7 separate regions of the Homo sapiens genome follow, and regions 1, 2, 3, 4, 6 and 7 are each linked to region 5. Evidence: promoter capture Hi-C in 16 types of primary human blood cells and fetal thymus (Javierre and others, 2016). All regions are on one chromosome and are shown on one strand. The core of a region is centred on a gene start or on the middle of the fragment in contact, and the rest is flanking DNA. Distances in the headings are between cores, read along the strand shown. Region 1 overlaps KRTAP3-2 (keratin associated protein 3-2). Region 2 holds the start of LOC107985072 (a long non-coding RNA gene). Region 3 holds the start of LOC105371778 (a long non-coding RNA gene). Region 4 has its middle 4.1 kb from the start of KRT33B. Region 5 holds the start of KRTAP4-5 (keratin associated protein 4-5). Region 6 overlaps KRT40 (keratin 40). Region 7 holds the start of KRTAP29-1 (keratin associated like protein 29-1).

Region 1 (3,635 bases), core at 1,013-3,512, 150 kb before region 5:
TGCGAAATCAGGGTAATAGCATGCATATTCCTCCACTTAGAAGATTATTGTGAGGTTCACATGTGATAAAAAGGGTGAAAGCTCATGGACAACCATATAATGCTATGCAAAAATAAATTATTATCATGATTGAAACAAATTACAGATGAAATTCAAGGCAAGGTAAAGATAAAAGAAACATAGTCAAAAGAAGAAAAGAAAATGAGATGAAGGTAAGTAAGAGAGCAACCTTACAGGAAAGAGCAAACATTTATATTAGTTTATACAAATAAATAAATAAATAAATAATCACATCTACGATTAGAGAAAGTGGTTGGCATATAAATTAACAAACCTAAAAATTTGAAAAGCTCCCTATGGCTCTGATTGAAAGGGAGAATTCATGATATCTTCTGGTTCCTGGACTTTCCCCAGATTTATCTTTGTATGAATGCCTGCCGAAGTGTGCACCCTTTTACTTAGAACTGATTAGTATTTCACTTATTATTTAAAAAGTAATTCAACAGACATTTACTGAGCAGTTACTATGTGCTAGTCACTGTGATAAATGTTGGATTTATAGCAATAAACAAGATAGGCACCATCCTTGCCCTCATGAAGTTTACAGTTTGGTGGAAGAATTTTTCATACACATAACATATTATTATAAGCTGCTGCTATTATACATTATAATAGGAAAGAAAAAGAGTAAAAGACAAAAAATAAAAGAAAAAATTATTTTGAGGGAAACATTACAAAGGAAACATGGCTTGCAGACCCTCAGGATTAGAATTTCATGGCAGAAAGCTATCAGCTTCTTACCTGGGATACAATATTACTTTGAGTTCACCATAAAAGCTTAGAGCAACTATTACTGTTTATGCAGCACATTGTGTTTCTCTAATCATAAATAAGACAAGGTTACAGATTACAAACAGTTGTAATGCAACAAGTTTATTATAATAAGCTCTTCTCTTTTATTGACAAGACTTGCAGCACTTTATTAAAATGTATTTTCTCTGCAGTGGTCTAAGAGACCTGAGAATTACTCTCCTTTGTTTATAAATGATGACAGTGATTCATAGAGAGGTGAGATGATTTGCCTTAGATGGTTCGGGAGCCAGTGTGTTAAAAACTAAATATAGGACCTATTGGGATTGAGCTACCTTTTATGTGGTTAGAAATGGAAGTTTAAACTATGTGTCAGAGATACTAAGCATTTTATTTTTAAAAACAACGCGTATCTTTTTTCTTTAAGTGAATGTAGGAAAAACATGGTGATTCTTGATGAGATGGTAGATTTTCGGGGTGCTAAAAATCTAGACACACACACACATACGCACACGCACACTCACACATCCAAGAAGTCCAGTTTTAATTATATCTTTCTATAGTCAATGGAGGGATCTGGGACAGTGCAGATGTAAATCAAAGATTAATAATGAAAAGAGACAGAAGCAAAACATGATTATATTGGTCTCTTGCTTGAAATATTTCATTGCTTCAAAGTTTCAGTCCAAACCCCTTTGCTTTGAGGAGCCCCTTATGTCTGGGTCTTTGCATTTCTGTCTTCTCTGCCTCACCCTCTTCAATGCATTGTTCATCCAGTCATTCCCAACTACCTCCTGTGGCTTAAAGACACCAACCTTTCCGCTGCCTCCATGATTTATTAAGCTGCTATTCTGTCTGGAACAACTGTTCCCTACCTCTCCTGCTGCCTATTCATCTTTTAAAGCTTAGACTGGATAGCTCAGAGGCTTTCCGTAGCTATTTCTCACCTTTGACACTGAATCACCAAATCAGGGTTTTAGTTATTCTTTCTGTATGCTTGCATGCCATGCTGCTCACCTCCCAGTCACAGCAGAATCCCTCAGCATTGCAATTATTATTATGATAACTTGTCTTTCTTCTTCACTAGATTTGGGAGAGACTTGAGGGCACTTGAGACTTGAGGTAATAGCATTTCTTTTATCTTTTTACTCCTGGCATCAATATGATGCCTGACATAGGGCAAACACTCAGGAAATATGGACAAATGAATGAGTGAATGGACTAGATCTCTTGTTGACAATATCCTCTGTAGTGTCCCATAGACTCCATGGCTGCTAAGTTCTGTTCATTTAAGGTTGAGCTGTAAAAAGCCTATGGAATCCCGTGAGAAATTTCTCTCTCAAGACACTAACAGGTACATTGAGGACATTTTAAAACAAGTTTGTTAAAAAGCATTTGCTTCTCCCCTTCCTTGTCCTACTCTGTTTCTTGCATGTCTTCTTGTGGTTTTATTTCAATGCATTTTCAGATTTTGACTTGTGTCTTTATATATGTATTGTGTATAGATATACATACACACATATATTTATATGTGTTACATAAATGTATTGGATGTATTATATATATAATATATACTTGTTCTCTCTAGGCTTGGAAAAGAAAAATCTTCATGAGATAAAATTAAGTAGGTTGATAAAATTAAGTAACGAATTAAAGCATACGTAATCAGAGTTTTAGCTCTCAACCTGAGACACCTGAAAAGTATTGGCATTCTATTGATTACTGTGGTAGAACATCTGTGCTGAGTATGGTGGCAAATAAAGGTATGTCCCTGGTGCCTTGTTACTAGAGTTGACCACTTTGAGTTCTCTCTAAGAGAAAATGAAGTTGAAATAGGTACACCTTCAAAATGCCCAGATTTTAGAATTGAATACTTGCCAATTTTAATCTATGAACCAATGTACTCTTTTTCTATTATAATCCGATGTGGATTTTGTTAAAGAATCTTACATGTTTTATTTCTCTTGCATATTTTGGGTTTATTTCATAACTGTGCTCATTAAGCTTCTGGTTTCATTAGTATTGAAGGTTCTATGATGTGGTAGGAAAAATTGGGCTTTAGAGTCAGACATACAAGAGGCTGAATTCTGATTTTCTAAGTAATTAACTTTATGACTTTCAGAATGTTGAATAACGCTTAAAACTTCATTTTTTCTTATCCATTAGTGCTGTTTTAAGGACTAAATCAATAATTTACTGGTGAAGAGTAGATAAATAAATGTTGGTTCACACCAAAATTGCACTTGTCTGAGGAAGAAGAGAGAAGAGAAGGCAAACATGAAAGAGAACCTGTTAAAAGTTAGCAAGCCATGTTAGTAGTAGCAAGAATGTTAGTCATTCTGCCAATAGAGTCTTCTTTAAAAGATTAAAATAATCATCCTGTTTTTACCTTTTTAAAATGGAAGAAATATACCCAAAACTAACATAAACAAATGACACATCTTGCCAGAGAAATATAGTTTATTGGAAAACCCACCAAGAAATTTTCTTCTATGAAAATACCCAGTACAAGAAACAAGAGCCAGGAAGCAATATGATCAAGAACATGTAATCTGAGGTCTTAAAGATTGAAACAGTATTTTGCTAATAAAACTCATTCACCTGCCCACAGGAACCAAATGGTTTTTCAGCTAAATAACCATAAAAAATACTTTTCTTTTTTTCCCCCATTAAAACCAAAGGTAAGTTCTTCATATCTGGGTCATCTGGTCTACCTTAACATCTGGCAAACTACTGAGGCAAGTGAATACTGAAGGGACAGCTTCTGGATTCTTCGTTGTCGGGCACTGAGCAAAGTAGCCATCCATCAGCAGCCTCTTGGGAGG
Region 2 (3,691 bases), core at 1,091-3,590, 220 kb before region 5:
AGGCGTCAGCATTGGGACCTCATGGAAATGCAACCTTTGGGAAGTTTGTGCATCTTTCTTTTACCTGTTCTTTATACCAAGTGTCCAAGTCTCGATGCTTCTTCTTTATTATAAGCTCATATTCTTGTCTCATATCCTCCAGGACCTTAATCAGATCTTCCCTGGGACCTGTATCCACCTTCACATTGACATTGAAGTCACTTGGCACATGATGCTTCTCCATTTCCTATTTAATAACAGAGAAAGGAAATGAACCGGCTTTGACAATCAGAAGGCTGGATTGCCATGTTGATTGGCAGTGGTAAATAGATCTTTTAAACATTCCGATTATGTGGTTGCTCCCACTGTCACTGGTTTGGTTTCTCAAATATTACTTACTTGTTGGTGATAAAACATTGTATACTTTTTTCTCTAATAATTTTATAAAATAAAGAATATCTTTGAGACCAACCTGACCAGCATGGAGAAACCCTGTCTCTACTAAAAATACAAAAAATTAACTGGGTGTGGTTGTACACACCTTTAATCCCAGCTACTTGGGAGGCTGAGGCAGGAGAATCGCTTGAACCTGCGAGGTGGAGGCTGCAGTGAGCCGAGATTGCGCCACTGCACTCCAGCCTGGGTGACAGAGTGAGACCCTGTCTCCAAAAAAAAAAAAAAAAAAAAAAAGAATATCATAAGGCAGGTAATCAAATAGCCTCCATGATTACTGACTTGATCCGTGGTTGAAAATATTTCAGAAAGAATTATGCTTCCATAGTGTGCAAAGTCCTGTTCAGCAGATGTGGATTGGTGAAGTGACAACATAGTTAAGCAGCTGAACCTTACAGGCTATAGGCCAAAGCTTTTGGGAAGCAGTTCAAGAGGCAAACAGCAGAAAGAAGGTGTAGAGGCTTTCAAAATCTCATCAATGCCTTGTGACACTGTAGGGCTGACGCCCATAGGATTTCATGAAAACCAAGCAGCCACAGGAAAGGTTTAATTAACAATCATTGTCTAACCAGCTATTCAGAAACTGAGCTCTTTGATGTTGAGAAGCAATTTTGTTTTCCTAAAATGGGAACTGTTTTTCTATCATTTTATCAGAGTCTTGAGGACTTGTGATGGATGGTAACTCTAAAAGTCAGTTAAATGCTTCTGGAAATTAGGATTCTTTATTTTTGCCCCACATCACACTTATCTTGGTTGGTAGCAGACTCTCTTCATTATATTGTCCCCTAACTTGCTGAACATTGGGCCAGTGATGGAAGTCCAGTCTCACGCATTGATTCTTATAGTAACATTAACAAGCACATCTAGGTAAACATTGTGTATTAACAAAACTGTTGACCAATTCATCATTAATTATGATTGCATTTTGGTTGTTGTATTTGACATGTGACTAGCTAACCTTGAAATTAGAAACATTAGATATTTGTATGTTTTTCTAAAGACTATTTAGGGTGAAGGACAAGGGGATTGGCATCCAGGTGGTGGTTTCTTCTGTAGCTGTCGAATCAGCCTGAGATGTGCAGGCTAAGAGCTGTGCTTATTAGCAGGTGTTCCTGGGGAGTTGTACCTGCTCATGGTGCTTCTTCATGAGAATGAGCTCTTTCCTCATTCCTTCCACCTCCTGTTCTAGGTCTGTTGTGACAATGGTCAGGTTGTCTAAGGTCCTTCGGAGGCCCTCGACTTCAATTTCCAAGTCTTTCTTAAAGGAGTGTTCATTTTCATACCTTTGGTGAGAAGGAAGAGAAGAGTGCACTCATTGTTGGAAGGCCATGGTTTTTGAAAGGATTCATTTTCATTTAGAGGTGAATCTTTTACTTTTTAGGTTTAAAGAGAGCAAATGAATACATATAGGATGTCTTTTTTATGCCAGTTTCATGCTACACTTCTCCATGATGGTGACTCAATGTCAACTTTTAAATTGAGTAGGGAGAATAGGATAATAAACAGTCATATACCCATTATCTATATTTAGCAACCATGAATGTTTTGCCATATTTGCTTCATCTATTTCATTGCTGAAGTATTTTAAAGCAGATTATAGATGTGATGACATTTTAAGACTAAATACTTCAGGATGCATCTTTTAAGAAAAATATATTTTAAAATAAACAGGCCGGGCACGGTGGCTCACACCTGTAATCCCAGTACTTTGGGAGGCTGAGGCGGGCGGATCACGAGGCCAAGAGATTGAGACCATCCTGGCCAACATGGTGAAACCCTGTTGCTACTAAAAATGCAAAAATTAGCTGGGCATGGTGGTGTGCACCTATAGTCCCAGCTACTTGGGAGGCTGAGGCAGGAGAATCGCTTGAACCTGGAAGGCAGAGGTTGCAGTGAGCCGAGATCACGCCACTACACTACAGCCTGGCAACAGAGCAAGACTCCGTCTCAAAAATAAACAAATAAATAAATAAATAAATAAATAAATAAAATAAACATAACACTACACCTAAACATTAATAACAACCCTTTAATATCATCTAATTCTTGATTCATATTCAAACTTCCCCATACTATAATGTGCTTTATATCTGATTTGTTTAAACTAAGGTTCATTCAAGTAACACACAGTGCATTTGCCGTTGCTATGCCTTTTCATTATAAGATTTTAGATGCGGGTAATGGCAAGATGAGTTTTCCTTTTTTTTTTTTTTTTTGAGATGGAGTCTCACTCTGTTGCCAGGCTGGAGTGTTAGTGGCGTGATCTTGGCTCACTGCAACCTCCACCTCCTGGGTTCAAGTGATTCTCCTGCCTCAGCCTCCCGAGTAGCTGGGACTACAGGCGTGTGCCACCATGCCCAGCTAATTTTTGTATTTTTAGTAGAGATGGGGTTTCACCATGTTGGCCAGGATGGTCTCGATCTCTTGACCTCGTGATCCGCCCGCCTTGGCCTCCCAAAGTGCTGGGATTACAGGTGTGAGCCACCGCGCCCCGCCGAGTTTTCCTTTTGTAAAGCAAACAAACAAAAACCCGAACAACCCTGTGAAGAAGGAACTTACTTGAGGTTGAAGTCATCCACTGCCATCCTGGCATTGTCAATGAGAAGAATAATCTGAGCATTGGTCATCTTACCATCCACTATCTGTAAAACATGCACAAAAGCACAAAAGGTTATCTCACTTGGACACACCCACACATGACCGCTGCATGTCTGTCCTCTAGCTTCCTGAATATTTGACTTGTTAGTACAGACAACTTCTTGTTCTGGCAGTGGAACAATGAATAACCGAATCAGTAAATGCTTAGTGAGCACATACTAGGTGCAAAGCAGAATGATTTTAAAATAAGAATATGATCTGCAGTCAGTGTTACTGCCTTTTTTCTTTTTATGTTGAGTTTTGACAGGCTTGGATTGATGCAACTGCTGAAAGAATGATATAGGAAGGGGAAGGACAGTAATTGTTCAAAATGCCCTCTAACTTTTTAGGTTATGGACATGTCATAGCATTTTGCTTAATTAAGCTCATCCACAGCTGAAGATGTTAAAAGGACTTTAGGTTCTGATCCTTTTCTTATTGTATTAGGTTGGTGAAAAAGTGATTTTTGCCATTACTTTTAATTAGTTCAGCCCTCCAAAAATACAAAAATTATTATTTCAGGTGAACATAATTCTTACTTGTGATAGCAATCATGTTTCTAATCAGTGTTACTGAGCAACGCTAACACTAATATTCAATGTATTTTGTAATAGTCATCACA
Region 3 (4,031 bases), core at 1,374-3,873, 200 kb after region 5:
AAGCTCAGATGAGGGAGAAAGAAAATGGCCCAGTCTTTACAAAAGATTCCGTTTCCCCAGCTTCCTTTGGACTCAGTCCTTTTCTCTCACCTCAGGGTAATAATTCTGGAGCTTGGCAGGTGCATGGAAGCATTCAGAGGTAGTTTTTAATTACAGCTCATTTATGCAAAGTGCTGCTACCTCCACATAGACTAACACTATGCAAATATTTAGACCTAACAGTCCCAAGTCTAGTATTAGATGGGCCCTCAAAAAACAAAATGGAAAGGCCAGTTTTCAGCTTTTCATTCACATCAAGAGCTTACGTTGTTTCTCAATCACAACTCGGATTCTCTCCCGACAACTTCCTACTGGAGGCACTGTGTCGCCCACTCCTCACCTTCTGCTGGAGCTCCTCAATGGTCTTGAAGTAGGACTGGTAGCTGGCACACACCAAGGGCTCCTGCTGCTGTGACCGCTCCCGGATGAGGTTCTCCAGCTCCGCGTTGTCCCGCTCCAGCTGACGCACCTTCTCCAGGTAGCTGGCCAGGCGGTCGTTCAGGAACTGCATGGTCTCCTTCTCACTGCCATTGAAGGAGCCCTCACAGAACCAGTTGCAGTTGCTCACATTGGCGGGGATGTTGCAGGCCCCGGGCAGGGTGCAGCCGTGGCAGCTGGGGGGCACACAGGGCCGGGAGGAGCAGCTGGTGCGGCAGCTCAGGCTGGGCAGGCCACAACTGTAAGACATGGTGCAGGGAGGGAGTGTCCAGCTGAAGACAGAGTCCAAAATCTCCAGGTTGTAGAGCGGTGGGTCTCCTTCCTCCAGGGAGCATTTATACCTCGTCCATGGAGGGTGTGGACACGTAAGACAACCCCTTTTTTTTTTTTTTTTTTTTGCTCATTTGGTGATTGTCAAAAGCCCTTCCCTCCATTTGTTGTGTTTCTTCAGAAGAGTCTCTCCCCTCATAAAATACTTTACTTGGGCTTCTCGCTAAGTCGGGACTCCTCTTCCATGCTGTGTGTCATGATGTAAGAGCTTCATGGTGTGACTTCAAAGACCTGGACTCATGAAAGCCCTGGCCTTCTTCAGTGGGGTGCAGCAGGTCAAGAGACAGTATTGCTGTTCTGCTTTGTGGCTTGAGGCCCCTAACTCTTTGGCAAGCTCTGGCTCTCCTTGGTGAAATGGAAAAGCATAGCTCTTGCCCTGTGTCTTTTGCTAGGTCACATTTCCAAGTGCCAAATTCCAAATTCATGGTTCTCAGAAAGAGGAATAGATCCTTTCTGGGACAGTTCCTGATGGCCATGTTTCCTGATATGATGGGCTTTTTTCATGTCCATGATGACGTCAATCAACCAAATAATAGATATCCACTATGACAATTTCATCCAGGGCGATGTAATAGACACTGGGAGGGGTGGAAAATAGGACTCAATGCTATGGTCAGAAGAAGTTCTTACTTGTTAAGAAACTGCACAAGCCCAAGGTAGTGTGGACACTTTTCACAAACTAGATCCTTTTTACAAACATGATCCTCAAACATGCAGAACTTAGATGTCCATTATTCCTCACCAGAACTCTTAAAGGTAAACTGTATAATTCCCATTTTATAGATGAGAACACCAAGGCATAGAGGGTGAGGATAATAAGTTGTGGACCTAGGATTCCAAAGCAGATCACTTTTCTTTTCATCACAACACTTGGCTTAAATATAAATGGCTTACTTCCTTCCCTTCTTCAGACAGGCCGTCCCTTTCTCCTCTCCAAGCTCTCTTTTTACCTTGAGCATGACACTGTCATGACTTATGTGCTTGTCTCTCTGTCTCTATTTGAGGTCCCTGAAGGCAAGGGCAGGGTCTAGTTTGTCTTTGAATCCCCAGCTCTAGGCACCTGGTAGGCACTGTTGAATGGGTGTGGGTAGAGTGATGAAGGGATGAACAGGAAATAATAATCTGAGGCAGAAGTTGACAAGTGATAACTGAGTGGTTTACACACTGGGGAGGGCGAGCAGCTCCAGGATTGGAGGCTCTTAGGAATGGATGAATGGATTTGTGCTGGGATAGGGAGGCTTCTAAGAAGCAGAGGGGAGAAAAGTAGGAAGTGCAGGTGAGGAGAATAATGTGCACACAGGAATGGGGTGGGAAAGCCCAAGGCATGGTTGAAGGACCAGGGTAAGTCTAGGCAGCAGGAAGGGGAGAGTTGTGAAGGGAAGTGCTAGAAATTAAAGCTTTATGGGGGATTGTATGGGGACCCTATGGTAGGGGGTCTCGATGGTGAAGTGGAGCAGCTTGGACTTCCCCAGAAGCTGTAGAGCCAGTATAAGCTTTTGAACCTAAGTGTGGTGTGACAAAAGGTGTTTTAGGAAATGTTTTAGCAAATATTTATCTGTTTTTGAAAAATGAAGGAAAGATTGGAGGCAAAGAGTTCAGCAAAGAGACTATTGCAACAGTCCATGCAAGACTAGAATTTATGGCAGGGATGATGATACAGATAAGGTTTAGTACAAGTGAGAGAGTTAGAGAACTGGGCCAAGGGAGAGTACAAAGAGAAGAGCAACAAGGAGCTGAGGACCAAACTTTGGAGAATTTCCCAATCAGAGATCAGGAGAAGGAAAAAGAATCTGTGATAAATGGAGAAATGGTGAGAAAAAAATGATAAAAACAAGTTCATGGCATCCCAGAAGGGCAGGAAGGAGGGTGCTTCCAAGAGGAGGTGATGTTAGAAGTGCCAAGTGCAGCAAAGGGGCCGCACATGATCAGGACCATGGAGAGGGTATTGGCTGCCTTGACCAGAAATTTACCAGGACCTTTCCAGGGTCACACAGGTATGCCTGCTGTACGCAGCGCCTGTGCACATTCTTAAAGTAATGCCCACAGTGAACTTCGGTAAACCAAGACTTCAAACACACAGAATTGAGATGTTCATTACTTAGAGAAGTTCTGCTGCAATAAATTTATATATCTGATTATTAAGCTTGGAGCTTTGATCTTACCAATACAGACTTTTATACAATAATTGGAGTGGGCTTTACGCAGATGCCAGACTTGTTTGAACTTGATGATTCGTAATAGTTTATTATTTAGGAACAATTATCCAAGAAGCATGAGTAATCTGAACTGACCGTGCATATGACACCACTTCTGTTTTGTCACAAGATGTAAGATGAGCCTTATTTGATATCCTAAAGAGGCAATGAGGAAAAAATTCAAGTATGGGCCTGAGGAGGCATACATTGGCCAGAAAGAGGAGGGGCTTCCTATGTCCTTGCTAGCAGAGGATAAAGCAGACAACAGATTCCAAGCCTCCCAGCTACAGCTACCAATCCAAGCAGCTTCCAAGCCTCCCAGCTACAGCTACAGACCAAAAACCAGATGGCTTTGCATTTGGCTCTTCTCTTCCTCCCTCTTACCTCCTAACATAGATCCTAAATATGAAAATGGTTAAAAGAGAGAGGGAAAATCTTGGAACAAGATATTGGGGATCCTAATGGTCAACTCATCCAAACCGTTCGTTTTACGAAGGGGAAACTGAGGCTCAGAATGGAGAAATGCCTTGCTTAGTATCATCTAGCTAGGACCCAGATCTTCTGATTCCCACTGCATTATCAGCCCAATCACCATTCTACTGAAATGTTGAAGAATTTCACAAACAATCTGATCTGTTATTACCTAAGGACAGAAATCAAGGGCAGTGAGAAAAACATCTTGTTAACCATAGATATGCTGTGTTGAAGAAGAATTATGAGTCAATGTGTAAATAAAGATAGAATTCAGCAATAGTACAGTTTCTTGTTAACTCTCTGATTTCAATTATTTCTAAGTTGATGATACAATTATATACCAACAATTTGGAGTAATTTAAACATAATTATATCCCATCAGATATAGATTATATCCCATCTGTTTGGAGCAACTTAGAACAATTGGTCAAACAATGGTGACCCTACTCGACAGCAATATGCTTATCCAGAGTAAGGTACACAAAAGATAGTCACAACAAAATTAAACTATTATTAAAATGGGGACAATTGAGAGATTAAAGAAAACACACCACA
Region 4 (3,729 bases), core at 1,084-3,583, 220 kb after region 5:
AGATCAAATAACATAAAGCAAATAGCTGAATTCATTAGCTTTTCTCTAATTACCTTGTGTTCTTCTCTCCTTCTTCTACGTCCCAAGCTTCAAAAGGAAAAATCTGACAATGGCACTTTTTAAAGAAAAGGGAAGGAATAGTGTGTCACAGACTGGTAAATATGTCCACAGGGATCCCTATAACCATTGCTGTAGCTTCTACCTCAGTCACAGTGGAATAATCCAGAGATAAGTATCCTTGTGTCTTTAAAAGTGGAGGTCAGAGTTTAGAAAACACAACTATTCCCACATCTTGAGTAGAAGTAACTATAATTTCTGCACAGCTACTTGGCCATTATGTACTAATAGTTGGAAGAACTTGGGTCTATGGAGAAAAGAGCCAAGTTTCAATTAGCTTCTCACAAAGTCTGGAAGGCAATTGCTTTTTACTTACTCCACTTGCTGTGTACTGTGAATTCTTATCTTTACATGGGTGATGCTATTGTCTCTGTTCAATGGCCCTTCATTAAACATGACAAGTAAGTCAAATCCTAACAAACCGAAAGGTTTTATACATGCCCATGTAATAGCGGCAGATGCTATGGTTGAGGCTTCTGGTCTTAAGATGTGAGCAAATTGCAGTTGAGGTTTAAGGATGCTATTTATTATGGAAGCCCGGGCTATTTCCATAGAAGAGATCACATGCCAACCCACCAGCGATGCTTAACCACGGAGTGGACATAGGATGGGGCTTCTGCTGAGGCCACCTTCCTCATTGTGGGACTTCAAAGGCATTAGGAGGCCTCCCTCCTTCTTCCCAAAGCCATCTTCTCCAATGTCCAGGCTCTGGTGCTTGAAATTGTCACCGTGAGAAATGTAAAATTTATTCTTTTAGAAATACGAAGTTACATTGGGCTACTTGAAAATTAATTATATTTTAATATGTACAAATGAGAAGGAGAGGCCAGGAGCAGTATCACTACATGCACACAGAGCAAGAAGATGGACTTTTTGCCAAAGAGGGATCCCAGAGGGGAATTAGAAAAGCAGAAAGACTGTCCAATAACAACCCCAGCCCATGGTTTTGGGCCAGCCTGTTAGAGCTTCCTAGAAGAGCAGAAGATAGGGCTTCCACAAACTGTTCCATAAAGGCAACTGTTGTCAATTTATCAATCCTCCAGCCTCAGGACATTGAGAGGAGAAATTGAAGGGGTAATTCAGGAAATAAGCCAACAAGTTTGGCCCTGTTCAATGGGGCTTCTGATAAGGGACAAGCAGGAGAGGGGCTGAAGAATGAGCCAGGTCAGCAGTAAGCTACGCTGAGCAAAAACAGATACAAACACCTCAAAATGGAACTCAGGAGGTAGTTCTACAAATCCTCTCCAGAGCCACCATGTTTCTCTTACACTCAGTCTTGGACTCCCAATGGGAATGGAGTCTTGGAGTCTTCAGGGACCAAGCCAAGTCAGAAAAATACAAAGTTCATCTATGCTATGTGTTTTTTTTTAACTTTTATTTTAAGTTGAGGGATACAAGTGCAGGTTTGTTACATAGATAAACTTGTGTCATGGGAGTTTGTTTTACAGATTATTTCATCACCCAGGTATTAAGCCTAGTACCCATTAGTTATTTTTCCTGATCCTCTCCCTCCTCCCACCCTCTACCCTCCAGAAGGCTCCAGTGTGTGTTGTTCCCCTCTATATGTCCACGTGTTCTCATCATTCAGCTCCCACGAGATCTATGCTATGTTTTTGACTACTCTAGACTATCAACTCAGTCTAGAATAGACAAGAGCATGACACAATCCAGGACGATGTAATTTAATGGTGCTAGTCTTCCTGAAAAAGCTGGATCCAGGGCCCACTCAGAGATGGAATGAAAACCTATATATGTGTCCTGCTCTGCAGATCAAGGGAGAGGGCAGATGCTAAAACCTTTTGACAGTACACAGAAGATAAAGCAAAGTCAGCTGAGTACAAATGTGTTGTGTTGAACTTTTGCATTACACTCACTATCACGTTGGTGATTTGAGACAGACATGAAAAAAACATGGAAATACAGCTTCTTCCCTCAGCCTCCCACAGACTCTGTTCTCTTTATAATCACCAGGAGTCTCCCCATTGCTTTAACCAGTAGATTTGTCTGATTCTCACCATCCTTGCCCTGGATGCTGTTGACAACTCTTTCATTAGAGCTCCAACTTCTTTTGACTTCTGTGTCCTTTAAGGTGCTTCTCCACTTCCCTCTCAAACTGCTTGCAACCAGATGTCATCTCTGTCCTCAAGATCTGGCAAAACCAAGGCTGAACCTCACATCAGGGACTTTGGAGAGCCCCAGCTGAAGTCTGTGGTTTCTATCAGTGGTCCTCAAGGTTCTTCTATTCCCTGCTAGCCTCCATTGGACAGTCTTAACAATTCCTATAGCTCTAATTATCATCTTTATTTACCCAGCTCTCCGACATCTCCCTCAAATCTAGTTATTCTTCTCCAGGTCTCTCCAATGGAAACTCATTGTTGTTTCATTTTCTCAGGCTGAAAATCTTCAGACCCATAGTAGGTGTTTGTGATGGTTAATTTAATGTATCAACTTGACTGGGCCAAGGGATGCCCAGATAGCTGGTAAAACATTATTTCTGGGTATGTGTGTAAAGGTGTTTCTAAAAGAGATCAGCATTTGAATCAGGAGAGTGAGTAAAGATCACCCTCACCAATGTGGGCAGGTGTCCTCCAATGTGGGTAGTCAAATAGAACCAAAAAGTAGAAGAAAGGCAAATTATTTCTCTCATTGACCGGTAAGGGAGAAGCAGGAGAGGGTCTGGAGAATAGGCCAGGTCAGTAGTAAGCTATGCTGAGCAAAGACAGACACGGACACCTCAAAACGGAACTCGGGATCTAGTTCCACAAACCCTCTCCAGAGCCATCACTGTTTCTCTTACACTCAGTCCTGCACTCCCAATGGGAATAGAGTTGAGCTGGGACATCCATCTTCTCCTGCCCTCTAACATCAATGCTCCCAGTTCTTGAGCCTTCAGTCTCAAACCAGGACTTACACCACCAGCCTTCCTGATTCTCAGTCCTTTGGGTTTGGATTGGAATTATACCACTGGCTTTCCTGGGCCTCCACCTTGAAGACAGCAGATTATGAAACTTCTCAGCCTCCATAATCATATAAGCTAATTCCTTATAATAAATCTCTTTCTATGTATCTATACATAGCCTACTGTTTCTGTTTCTCTGGATAACCCTAATACAGTGTGTGATCAGTACTAGTTTCCTTCCTTTTCTTTCCATTGTTCCTCTATCTCTACTCAGCTTCCATATTTAAGCCATGCCTCTAAAACCTACCCCTCTTTGGCCTCACTCTCCTCCACTTATCTCAGTCCTTATTGTCTCTCACCTCTTAATTGATCTTCCTTCTATTTCATCCAGCTTCTAGGACTCCTCACAACCCAACCTGTACACAGCTGCCAGATATATCATATGGCAAACTCCCTTACAAGAAAATCTCATGTATAATCATTCGGAGCACTTCCAAATATGGCCGTACCTAACTACCTTGCAGTTTCATCTCCTATAACCACACTTACCCTCTGTTCTAGGCTAGGGATTGGGTTGTCAATTTCTAAACACACCTCATAACTCCTCCAGGCAAAGTTCATGCTCAGGAAAACTTTCCCTCTTCTTTTTTTTTTTTGAGACAGAGTCTCACTCTATCATCCAGGCTGGAGTGCAGTGGCACGATCTTGGCTCA
Region 5 (3,641 bases), core at 530-3,029:
ACAAAATGTAGATGACTTCATGATGTTCAACTTGCTGGAGTTTTTAAGGGACACTTGAGGCATATACCAAAACTTAATTTTGAGTTGTAGAAGACAGCGCAACAATGATACAAATTTTCTTGCTGTTCTGTCAAAAAGAAAATTATGCTAAGATATTATTCTAGCCCAGGGTATTGTTTCAATCATAGTAACAGCAGAAATTGTATTTATTTATTTATTTATTTATTTATTTATTTATTTATTTATTGAGACAGAGTTGCTCTGTCACCCAGGCTGGAGTGCAGTGACATGATCTCGGCTCACTGCAACCTCCTCCTCCTGGGTTCAAGTGATTCACCTGCTTCAGCCTCCCAAGTAGCTGGGACTACAGGTGTGCACCAACACGCCCAACTAATTTTTGTACTTTCAGTAGAGAAGGGATTTCACTATGTTGCCCACACTGGTCTCGAATTCCTGGCCTCAAGTGTTCCACCCACTCAGCCTCCCAAAGTGCTGGGATTGCAAATGTGAGCCACCACGCTCGGCCAGAAACTGTATCCATTAAGAGCCTATACTGCATTATGTACCAGGCCCTGTGGTGAGTATATTACATGGGTTATGTCTCTTAACATTTAAAGAATGTAATGCATTATCTCTATTCACAGAGAAAGAAAACTGAGGCCTGAGGAGGTTAAAAAACTTGCCCCATGCCACGCAACAAATACCTAGGGGAGTCGTGATTCCAATGCAGGGAACATGAATCAAGAGCCCAGGCTCTTAAACATGCTCTCCTGCATTTGAAGAGAGATGGCCCTTGATGTGAACTGACAGGTAAAGACACACACACACACACACACACACGCACAATGAGATCACTAACAAATCAGAAGATTTCAATATTAGGGAAGTGGCTGTTTATTAATACATGAAAACAATATTATATGAGATCATCACAGTTAGTGTCCCCTTCGAATGAAGACACTGCTCATCTAAAAATAACTGCATTGGGGCCTGGCATAACATATTTTAATGAATGTGATTGTCTGTCATTTCCTAGAAGAGCTGAATGTCCACTCTGAATGCCACATGAGACAAACTGGCAGGGAAGTGTTCATTTTTCCAGTGACTGGCTGGCTACAGTGCATTTTAAATGACTAATGAAGACATTCATAGTATGACAAATATCACAAGGAGACATTAGCAGCAAGAGGAGGCACAGCACAAGGGGCGGGGGCAGGTGGAGATGACACAGGTTGGGCGATAGCAAGTGGTGTGGCAGGAGACTCGGCCACAGACTGGACGCACGCAGCAGCAGGGGCGGCAGCAGCTGGATTCACAGCAAGAGGGGTGGCAGCAGCTGGAGATGCAGCAGCTGGGACGGCAGCAAGTGGGCTGGCAGCACACAGACTGGCAGCACTGGGGTCTGCAGCAGCTGGACACACAGCAGCTGGGGCAGCAGCAGGTGGTCCTGCAGCAGGTGGTCCTGCAGCAGGTGGTCTGGCAGCAGCAGGGGCGGCAGCAGCTGGATTCACAGCAATAGGGGCGGCAGCAGCTGGAGATGCAGCAGCTAGGGTGGCAGCAGGTGGGCTGGTAGCACACAGACTGGCAGCACTGGGGCTTGCAGCAGCTGGGGCGGCAGCAGGTGGTCCTGCAGCAGGTGGTCTGGCAGCAGCTGGGGCGGCAGCAGTTCTCCAGGCCACAGCTCTGCTCAGAGCTGACAGAGCCACAACAGGAGCTGACCATGGTGTCAGAGGGTGGAGGTTCTGGGTGGATTTCTAGAAGAATGAGGTTCTCAAGTTTGGAAGTGTCCTTGGGCCACAGCCTCTTATATACTGCCCAGCTGTCTTGTTGGTACTACATTTTCCTTGTTTTTGTTTACTTAATAACTAAGTGATTATCAGATTACACAATAATGTTTGCCCATTTAATGGTTTAAACTTGTTGAAAACAAAATTTTCTTGTCCGGATGTAATAAGATCTATCATGTCTGCCTTCTCTCATGATTCACACCTCGGTAGCATCTTCTAGACCACGTTCTCTTCCTCTTCCTCCACAGAGGGCTGTTCATGTGATTCCCTGCATTTGGAATTGCATTTCTTACTCTCGCTTCAGGTACCCTCTACCAAAATGGGATTTGGTCAGTCACACTTCCAGTTATGCATTCCCTCTAGTGACCAATAGCGAGGAAAACCCATCTGCTCAGTGTGGCATTCCTAGTCTGTGGGTCATTATTAAGCAATAAGCAAAGGGATAGCAATACCTGCATGTGGCCTTGGTGACCTCTACACTATTGAAATGGGTTTCCCTGAATGTTTCAAATTTTGGGTCATATTCCATATCCTTAAATTTTTATACTTGGTGTTACTAATGGGTCAGTTTCTTAAATTGATACTTTGCTCTCCTATATTTTGTGTCATGTCTCTCCAGTTAATCTATTAGATTCCGGAAGACATAGTCCCATTTTTATTCCATAACTCATTGTTTTTTTTAAATGCCTCTAACTGTCTGTTAACATAATGCAGGTGTGTGTTTTCACTTTTTAAAAAAGAAATTTGAGATAATTGTAGATTTACATACAGCTGTAACAAACAGTCCCAGGAGAGGCTGTCTGTACTTCACCCAGGCTCCCTAACACTGTGTAACACCTGTATAATACTTTTAAGAATCTATCTACCCCCACTACTGTGTCTTGCATGATGTGCTTAATATAGAAAGAACTCAAGCTCAGTGAAATTAAAAACAATTAGTTATTTTTCAGATTGACGTATAATATTGTATTTACCACATACAACATAATATTTTGAAGTATATATACATTGTGGAAGGATTAAATCTAGCTAATAAATGCATTACCTCTCATACCTATCATTTTTTTGTGGTGAGAACGCTTAATATCCATTCTTAGAATTTTTCAAGAATACAGTATGTACAATATATCATCATTAACTATAGTCACTATGCTATACAGTAGACCTCTTGAACTGATTCTTCCTGTCTAGCTACAATTATATGTCTTTTGACCAGTATCTCCTCAAGCCCCTGACTCCCTAGCCACCCCTAGCCTCTGATTATCTTCATTCTCTGCTCTACTTCTATGATATCAACTTTTTTGAGTGCGATCATGTGAGTGAGATCATGTGCTATCTGTCTTTCTATGACTGATTTACTTCACTTAGCATAATTTCCTTGAGATGTATCCATGTTGTCACAAATGACAGAACTTCCGTCTTTTTACGGCCAAATAGTATTGCACTGAGTATATACTGCATTTTCTTTATCCCCTTACTCATTGGTGGACACTTGCACTGTGTGCATATCTTGGCAATTGTGAATAGTGCTGCAATAAATCTGGACATGCAGTTATTTCTTCAACATACTAAGTTCATTTCCTGTAGATATATAAGGTACCCAGAAGTGGATTGCTGGATAATACGGTAATTCCAGTTTTAATTTTTTGAGGAACCCTTATATTGTTTTCCATAATGGCTGAACTAATTTATATTCCCACCAACAGTGTACGAGGGAGTTTTTTTCACATCCTTGCCAATACTTGTCATCTTTTGTCTTTTTGATGATAACCATTCTAACAGGAATAAGGTGATATCTCAATGTGGTTTCGATTTGTATTTCCCTAATGATTAGTAATGTTGAGTACTTTTTCA
Region 6 (3,645 bases), core at 1,106-3,605, 170 kb before region 5:
CTCTTTGTGACTCTGGGGGATTTCATGAGTAACTGTGGAACTTGCCTGCTGTCCTCGCTGTCCAGCAGGCCCCAGTACGTGTTGATCTCACCCTCCAGCCGGGCCTTCACGTCCAGGAGCACCTGGTACTCCTGGTTCTGTCGCTCCAGGTCGCAGCGGATCTCGGCCAGCTGGTTCTCCAGGTTATCGATCAGACACTGAATTTGGGCCAGCTGGGAGCTGTACTGGGCCTCGGTTTCTGCCACGGTGCATTCCAGAGATTCTGTCTGCGGGAGGAAACATTGTCCAAAGGACCATGAAGTGCAGTCTCTCGGGCCAGAGTGCCTACTTTCAAATTCCTGCTTACCCTTTTCTAGCTATGTGACCACTGGCAAATTATTTAGCTTCTGTGAGTCTCAGTTTTATTCTCTGTATAGTGGAGAATACAAAGTATCTGTTTCATTAGACGGTTGTGAAGATTAAGAGTTAATATGCGGGCTGGGCGCGGTGGCTCAGGCCTGTAATCCCAGCACTTTGGGAGGCCGAGGCGGGCGGATCACAAGGTCAGAAGATCGAGACCATCCTGGCTAACACGGTGAAACCCCGTCTCTACTAAAAATATAAAAAATTAGCTGGGTACGGTGGTGGACGCCTGTAGTCCCAGCTACTCAGGAGAATGGTGTGAACCCGGGAGGCAAAGCTTGCAGTAAGTCAAGATCATGCCATTGCACTCCAGCCTGGGCGACAGAGGGAGACTCCGTCCAAAAAAAAAAAAAAAGAGTTAATGTGCGTAAAGCATTTAGAACAGTGCCAGCCATACTGCCACTGTTCTACGTGTCAACTATCACTACCACCACTATGACTACAGCAATACATGACATATTTGTGAAGCTTAAGGACTATCCACAACATATGAGAGGAAAGATTGAGTTTGGGCTCTTGGCAGGGAGGGGTAGTATAGTGCTATTAAGAGAAGAGGCTCTGGATACCAGAGGCTGGGACTGGCATATGTGTGGTAAGGGGATGAAGAGAGGTTGGTTAATGGGTGCAAACATACAGTTAGACAGAAAGAATATGTTTTCATGTTGGACAGCAGAGAAGTGTGACTACAGTTAACAACAATACACTGTGCATTTCAAAATAGCTAGATGGGAGGACTTGAAATGCTCCCAACACATAGAAATGATAAATACTTGAGGTGATGGATGCTCTAAATATCCTGACTTGATCATTACACATTCTATGCATGTAACAAAATATCACATCTACGTAAAAAAAATTTACGCATATTATATATCAATAAAAATAAATTTAAAAAGAGAGAGAGAAGAGACTCTGGGATTCAACTGGCTGAACTCAGCTTCCAAGTTTGCCTCTTAGAATTGCATCCTTTGCAAGTTACTTAATCTGAGTCTCAGTTTTCCTTATCTGTGTCATGGGATAAAGGTATCTATCCGGTAAAGTTACTGTGAGCCTTAAATCAGCATAGTGCCTCTCACAGGATGAATGCTCAGCTATTGTTCTTCTAGGTGTTCTCCGCAGGGCCTAATGACATGCACACAGTGGTGCTTGACCAGAACTGGTTCATGTCATCTTGAACGCATGGTGTTCCTGTTGCTTGAGTGGGGGGTGGTGCAGTGAAGGATAAGGTTGAAGTGTAGATCCTGGGAAACTGTAGGATGAAATGTTTGAAAATGATTCTTTGTTTTAGATATAACAGTGAGCCTGGAAAACTGGCCTGAATCAAATGAGAATTAAAACCTGCCAGAATGCTTAAGCGACCATGGCCCGGAGGTTTCTCTCCAGCTCTGCTTCTCCCTCCCTGTCTCTGGAGGCTGCTGCAGCATCAGACTCAAGCCCAGGAGTGAAGGTAAGGCATCTTAGAGGACAAGCTGTGGACCTGTCACTTCTGCTTCTATTAATAGCTGGGTAAACGGCAGTACTCGGGAAAGGCAAGGAAATGTGATCCTCGGATATGGAAGAGGGCTTAACATCTCAGGGCCTGACTTATCAGTGACACAACGGACACTGCCTTTGCCTCACGCACCAGGCTTTGCTGTGCTTGGAGCTCAATTTCCAGAGCACTGGCTGTGCGTTTCAGTTCCAAGATCTCCATCTGGCAGCCCTGCAGCTGCTCCGCGCTGGACAGTTGCTGCTGATTCAGCTCTTCTGTCTGAAACACAGACACCATTAGAGAATTCAAAAAAGGCAGAAGTCTGTAAGCCTGACATTTTTTCAATCTGGGTACTGACCTGAACAGCCAACCATTCTTCAGCTTCTCTGCGATTGTTGGCAAGCACCGTTTCACACTGACAGCGCATCTCATCCAGGACCCTGTTGAGGTCAAGGGTGGGGGCAGTGTCCAGCTCCACACTGAGGCGGTCGCCAAGCTGTTCACGAAGCAAGTTGACTTCCTGAAAGTGGGATGGTGTAAAGAATGTCACAGAATGGTGGGGAAAAATCCATTTGACATCCAATGGCATTCTACTTCTGTTTTTTGGAGCAGTGGGTAAAAGTGTGAGATTTTGATTCAGATTGCCTGGGCTGAATCTCTTTTCACCACTTAGAAGGGCCTCAGTTTCTTCGTCTGTAAAATGGACATAATAATTGGACATTTTTCCAGAAAGTTATTGTGAGATCTAGAAGAGTCAATCTACACATAATTAACTTATAAAAGTTAATTATGACACATAGTAAGGTGTCAATAAATGTTAGCTATGATTGTCATCAACAAACGTTCAAAGAGCAAATGTACTTTGTTACATCATTCAGCTTTTCATTTTCTAGCTTTATCAATATATCAGTGGCTGTATATTTTATGATTTTTAGAAGTTTATAAATGCGGAATATTTAAAAACACTGGTCCAGATAGTGCACAGTCTTTATCCCTTTTTTGAAATGGACTTCACAGTCTGTTCCTCAGCCTGATTTTCATACCCTGTGGACTGGAGCTAGGGGTGGCATAAAGCCTCCAAAGGAAGCCATTTGTGAAGTTACCTCCTCCACAAAGGCAAGGGCAGGAGAAGAGTTTGATTCCTTCCTCTGGCGCTGTCTAGGGGTTATTTCACACCTTAAATCAGAGACACACTGGAATGATCAGGTTGAATAGTAATAATGCCTCGAGTAGTTTTTGTTTGTTTGTTTGTTTGTTTGTTTTTTGAGATGGAGTCTCGCCCTGTCACCCAGGCTGGAGTGCAGTGGTAAGATCTCGGCTCACTGCAACCTCCGCCTCCTGAGTTCAAGTGATTCTCCTGCCTCAGCCTCCCGAGTAGCTAGGACTACAGGCGCCTGCCACCATGCCCAGCTAATTTTTGTATTTTTAGTAGAGATGAGGTTTCATCATATTGGTCAGGCTGGTCTCGAACTCCTGACCTTGTGATCCTCCTGCCTCAGCCTCCCAAAGTGCTTGGATTACAGGTGTGAGCCACCATGCCTGGCCCTGCCTCAAGTAGTTTTATTCCAGCTTAAACAACATCTGCCCAAATTCGATTTACAAACATCAACAGATCATCTGTCAATGTAAGTACGTTACTCTCGGAGTCCTTCAGCGGAGTTGCCACTTTCCTTACCTCTTCATGGTTTTTCTTAAGGCAAAGGAGATCTTCCTTCAGAGACTCCACATGGGCCTCCAGATCAGATTTGCACAGGGTCAGTTCCTCCAGGATC
Region 7 (3,475 bases), core at 322-2,821, 150 kb after region 5:
GTGAACTGTTTGCCCTTACTCTCGTCCAGCTGGAGAATCTATAATCCTAGACACTAGCTACCCTTGCAGACCAATGCAGACCCACTGACTTAGATGACTCAGGCTCATTGTGTTCAAATGTGACCTGAAGGAAATCTACATAGAGGTGTGTGTAGGAATGAAAGCACTCCAGGAGTCTTATTTATTATACTTAACCAGTCACATTTTTATTAGCAGCTGGCAGCAACGAGGTCTTCTGAAAGACCAGGCAGCATCAAGAAAGAGAAACAAGAGAGGGTTTGCTAAAGTGAAATGAATTGACATCATCAGGAAATGCAAGCAGCAGTGTGGTAGTCCATGGTTGCTGAAAGGTTATTCTCGGTTAAGAAGGATCTCTTCGTGCCTGGACAAGTTCCCTGGTCAGCACCTGGAGAGAATGTGAAGGTGGAATCAGGGTAAAGTTAGAAAGCAGGCAGCATTTGTACTCGGTGGGAGGCAGGCACCCAGGGATGGCTATGCATTTATAGACAGCCGCAGACCCTCAGAGGAGGTGTGAAGAGGGCTCCATTAACAAAGTGTTGCCTTGCAGAAGCTGGACTCACAGCTGGGTTGGCATGAAGTCGGCAAGCAATTGGAGCCACTACTGGGTGATGTGCCTAAACCAGTCACACAGCAAGCTGATTTGCAGCCACTCTGGTTATAGGAAGGGGGTCCATCACAAGTTGGTTGGCCAGAAATCACAGTGTCACAAGAAGCTGGTTTGCAACAGTTCTTTGTGGAACAAGGGGCCTGGCAGTTAGCCACTGGCTGGTAGATGAAGCATGTGGAAGGAACCAGTTGGCAGTGAGGTGGCTGGCAATGGGAAGGCACACAGCAAGTAGTATTGCAAGAACTGAACACACAAGTCGATGGCTGGCAGGGAACAGGCATGTAGAGGGCTGATTGGCAAGGCTTGAAAATATAGCAGATGGGTTGATAATAAGTTGATTTACAGGGCTGGCCTTCACCACTGACGGGTTGACATGAACTTCCTTGGCACCAAGTTGGTTGGCATGGACTAGCTGTACAGATGGTTGGTAGGCAAGAAGTTTCCGGACAGGAGGTCACTTCAGAGCAGGATGGCTGGCAGGATCCAGCATCACAGCAGACTGATTGGCCACAAGCTGCCTGACATGATCCAGACATGCAGACAGATTCCTGGCAGGAGCTTTGCTGGCAGGGACTGGCATCGCAGCACTTTTCCTGACAACAAGTAGATTCCGAGCAGGATGGCTGACATGAGCTAACCAGACAAGGAGACTGACCAGTGCCAGACTGATAGCAGGCTGCGTGGGAGCACATAGGTTGGCAAACAAAACCCACACAAGACGTTGCTGGAAGGCGGGTAGGTTGACACGAAGCAGGATCACAGCCACTTGGGGCACCAATGGATGGCTGACAGCTTTCTTGGCATGTGACCAGTTGCCACATTCTGCTGTGGCAGGAACTAGGCAAACAGAGAGCATGTCGAAATCCACCTTTAACTGGGTATGTGGTGATGGTGGGCACAGCTGGAATGGCTGTGGTGTTTCCAGGACAACAGCCGTCTGCCATGGTGCTGGTGCTGACCTTGCTGGGAAGTTGCAAGCTCAGTATACCTGCATTGGAAAGACATCCGATACAGAGGGGCTTTTATAGTCCTTCACTAGGGGTGTTGGCACGCCATGCAGCATCTTTCCTTGTTATTGTTTTTACTCATTTGCATGCAAACATCTGATTAGCAGGCTTCAGGAGCCTGGGAGATGTTTCAACTTTGAAAAGGTGTCTGTTGAGTCGGGAGTTTTCTGCGCTGCATTTGGATTCGTTGACACTGCTCCTGCTCTTGGATGAGCTGTCTCTTTTACAGGTTGCTCTCCAGCCTCACTGAAGCAGGCCTTTCCTGGCACTAACCTTTCATCAGGAGGCCTCTGCCAAGCCAGAGTGGCCCTGCTGTTCCTCCAGGAATGCAGCTTTGCACCATTCAATCAGAAATGAAGCCTTGACCCAGTTTGGGGAGAGGATGTCAAGACGGGAAATGGAAAATTAGTCCAAGGAACCCAGGGACACTTAAGTGCCTCTACCTCTTTTTAAAACCTTCCCATTTATCATTCCTGAAACTTGTTTACTAGTACTATTACTAATAATAACAATAGAAATGGCTTTCATTTATTGCATAGTTACTAGATCAAGTCCTTGGCTGCATTTTTCACTGGATCCTCACAATGACTTCAGTAAGTATAATTGTCATCACTATGTTAGAAGTGGCAAAACTAAAAAAAAGTAATAAATAAAGAAGAAACCAGGTTTAAAACAAAGTTAAGATTAAAATATAAAACTTCATTGGCCCTTTTAGGAAGCTTAAAATCTCCCCCAAATTGGTTCCTCTCAAGATTTTTTTAGAACAGAAAAGAAGAAAACAGAAGTGGCAAAACTCATAGAGTTTAAATCATGTTCCCAAAATTATGCAAATGAAAAGGGGTAGAAACAAAATTCAAACCTAGCTTTGTCTGACCACCAAACCCCTGATCTTAACCACCTATTAGACCCCCTGACTTTGGGGAGGCAGGGAGAAGGCGACACTGATATAGTGGCTGCAGGCTGACACCCCTATGGCAACAGACTGGCTCGTGAGCAGGTTGCCCAGGCCCCATCCTGGGGATCCTCCGCCCACTCCAGTGACTGTAATCAGCAGCTAGACCACACTGGTGTGAGTACTTACCTCTACTTATCAATACACTCAAACACAGTCTTTTAATTTTGGAAATTTTTTAAACTACCAAATATTTCATCAGGAAGTATCAAACCCACCCTAGGGCATCAATAGCATATGAATTCTATACAAATAAAAACACGCCAGCAGTGATAATAAAAAAAATCACTGTAAAGTGGTGTTAATGTTAAACCAATCCCTTCCAAGAGGAATTCGTGAGGGACTTTCTTGGCCCTTCTGCTTTTCCTCCGGGCTTGTCCTGGCTCCGCATCACCAACCAGGTCCGGTGTTCTACACCAGCCAACGTTCTGGCCGGTTCACGCTGGAGGCACATGACGGAGTGGAAAGATCACGGTGTGGGGAGCCAGATGGGGCTGGCCTTGATTTCTGGCTCTGCCACTAACTCATTCTGTTGAATATGTTAGCTAATTACCTAAGTCTTCAAAGTATGGCGATTTCATCAACTGCGTTGTCATGTCTCAGGTTAGTTTTTTGTGGGTGTTTGTTTGCTTTGGTTGCTTCACAAATTATTGAAAATACTGAAAACGCTGAAGGGTACTTTGCAAACCCCCAGCTACAAAATGCCTTCTCCTTGGCACCCTCTTCACCTCCATTTTAAAAAGAAGAGAAACATTTTTGATCAGAACAATGTCTGGAAAACCTTCTCCCCTGCCATTGAAATGCCTTTTTCCCCACAGTTGGTTTCTATGTCACACCATGGATCACTTCTTTTGCCCTCCTTCTTGTCTGTATTCATGTTGGCATCTT

The links. The method cuts DNA at HindIII sites, captures the fragments that hold promoters and counts their contacts. A CHiCAGO score of 5 or more calls a contact.
Region 1: a fragment that was not itself captured here is called in contact with the fragment with the promoter of KRTAP4-5 in region 5 in 1 of 17 cell types (endothelial precursors); the score reaches 5.2 in endothelial precursors.
Region 2: a contact is called between a fragment that was not itself captured here and the fragment with the promoter of KRTAP4-5 in region 5, in 1 of 17 cell types (endothelial precursors). The highest score is 5.1, in endothelial precursors.
Region 3: a contact is called between a fragment that was not itself captured here and the fragment with the promoter of KRTAP4-5 in region 5, in 1 of 17 cell types (total CD8 T cells). The highest score is 6.8, in total CD8 T cells.
Region 4: a fragment that was not itself captured here is called in contact with the fragment with the promoter of KRTAP4-5 in region 5 in 4 of 17 cell types (non-activated CD4 T cells, naive CD4 T cells, total CD4 T cells and 1 more); the score reaches 6.2 in non-activated CD4 T cells.
Region 6: a contact is called between a fragment that was not itself captured here and the fragment with the promoter of KRTAP4-5 in region 5, in 1 of 17 cell types (endothelial precursors). The highest score is 6.3, in endothelial precursors.
Region 7: the fragment with the promoter of KRTAP29-1 here is called in contact with the fragment with the promoter of KRTAP4-5 in region 5 in 5 of 17 cell types (naive CD8 T cells, total CD8 T cells, naive CD4 T cells and 2 more); the score reaches 6.3 in naive CD8 T cells.

Annotation. Positions count from the first base shown.
Region 1 is chr17:40,995,941-40,999,575 of GRCh38, forward strand. It overlaps KRTAP3-2 (keratin associated protein 3-2), which reads right to left. Exons shown (of 1, transcript NM_031959.3): 1 at 3,253-3,635. The coding sequence ends at 3,617. Among named protein-coding and RNA genes, the nearest start is that of KRTAP3-2, 2.1 kb to the right of the region's middle. The HindIII fragment of the contact is 1,100 bases long and covers 1,713-2,812 here.
Region 2 is chr17:40,928,382-40,932,072 of GRCh38, forward strand. KRT23 (keratin 23) reads right to left here. Exons shown (of 9, transcript NM_015515.5): 3 at 2,992-3,074; 4 at 1,559-1,715; 5 at 65-226. LOC107985072 (a long non-coding RNA gene) reads left to right here and starts at 222. Exons shown (of 4, transcript XR_001752886.2): 1 at 222-301. The HindIII fragment of the contact is 2,996 bases long and covers 843-3,691 here.
Region 3 is chr17:41,350,041-41,354,071 of GRCh38, forward strand. It overlaps LOC105371778 (a long non-coding RNA gene), which reads left to right and starts at 1,457. Exons shown (of 2, transcript XR_001753056.1): 1 at 1,457-1,563; 2 at 2,382-3,758. KRT33A (keratin 33A) reads right to left here and starts at 788. Exons shown (of 7, transcript NM_004138.4): 1 at 380-788. The coding sequence starts at 727. The HindIII fragment of the contact is 650 bases long and covers 2,299-2,948 here.
Region 4 is chr17:41,372,056-41,375,784 of GRCh38, forward strand. No RefSeq gene overlaps it. Among named protein-coding and RNA genes, the nearest start is that of KRT33B, 4.1 kb to the left of the region's middle. The HindIII fragment of the contact is 4,497 bases long and covers 86-3,729 here.
Region 5 is chr17:41,148,046-41,151,686 of GRCh38, forward strand. It overlaps KRTAP4-5 (keratin associated protein 4-5), which reads right to left and starts at 1,780. Exons shown (of 1, transcript NM_033188.4): 1 at 879-1,780. The coding sequence starts at 1,722. The coding sequence ends at 1,177. The HindIII fragment of the contact is 5,677 bases long and covers 1-3,641 here.
Region 6 is chr17:40,978,759-40,982,403 of GRCh38, forward strand. KRT40 (keratin 40) reads right to left here. Exons shown (of 7, transcript NM_001389244.1): 3 at 3,549-3,645; 4 at 2,232-2,393; 5 at 2,027-2,152; 6 at 46-266. It overlaps LOC107985072 (a long non-coding RNA gene), which reads left to right. Exons shown (of 4, transcript XR_001752886.2): 3 at 1,691-1,849; 4 at 3,570-3,645. Among named protein-coding and RNA genes, the nearest start is that of KRT40, 3.7 kb to the right of the region's middle. RefSeq lists an enhancer at 1,248-1,849. The HindIII fragment of the contact is 2,975 bases long and covers 869-3,645 here.
Region 7 is chr17:41,301,280-41,304,754 of GRCh38, forward strand. It overlaps KRTAP29-1 (keratin associated like protein 29-1), which reads right to left and starts at 1,572. Exons shown (of 1, transcript NM_001257309.1): 1 at 547-1,572. The coding sequence starts at 1,572. The coding sequence ends at 547. The HindIII fragment of the contact is 6,603 bases long and covers 1-2,352 here.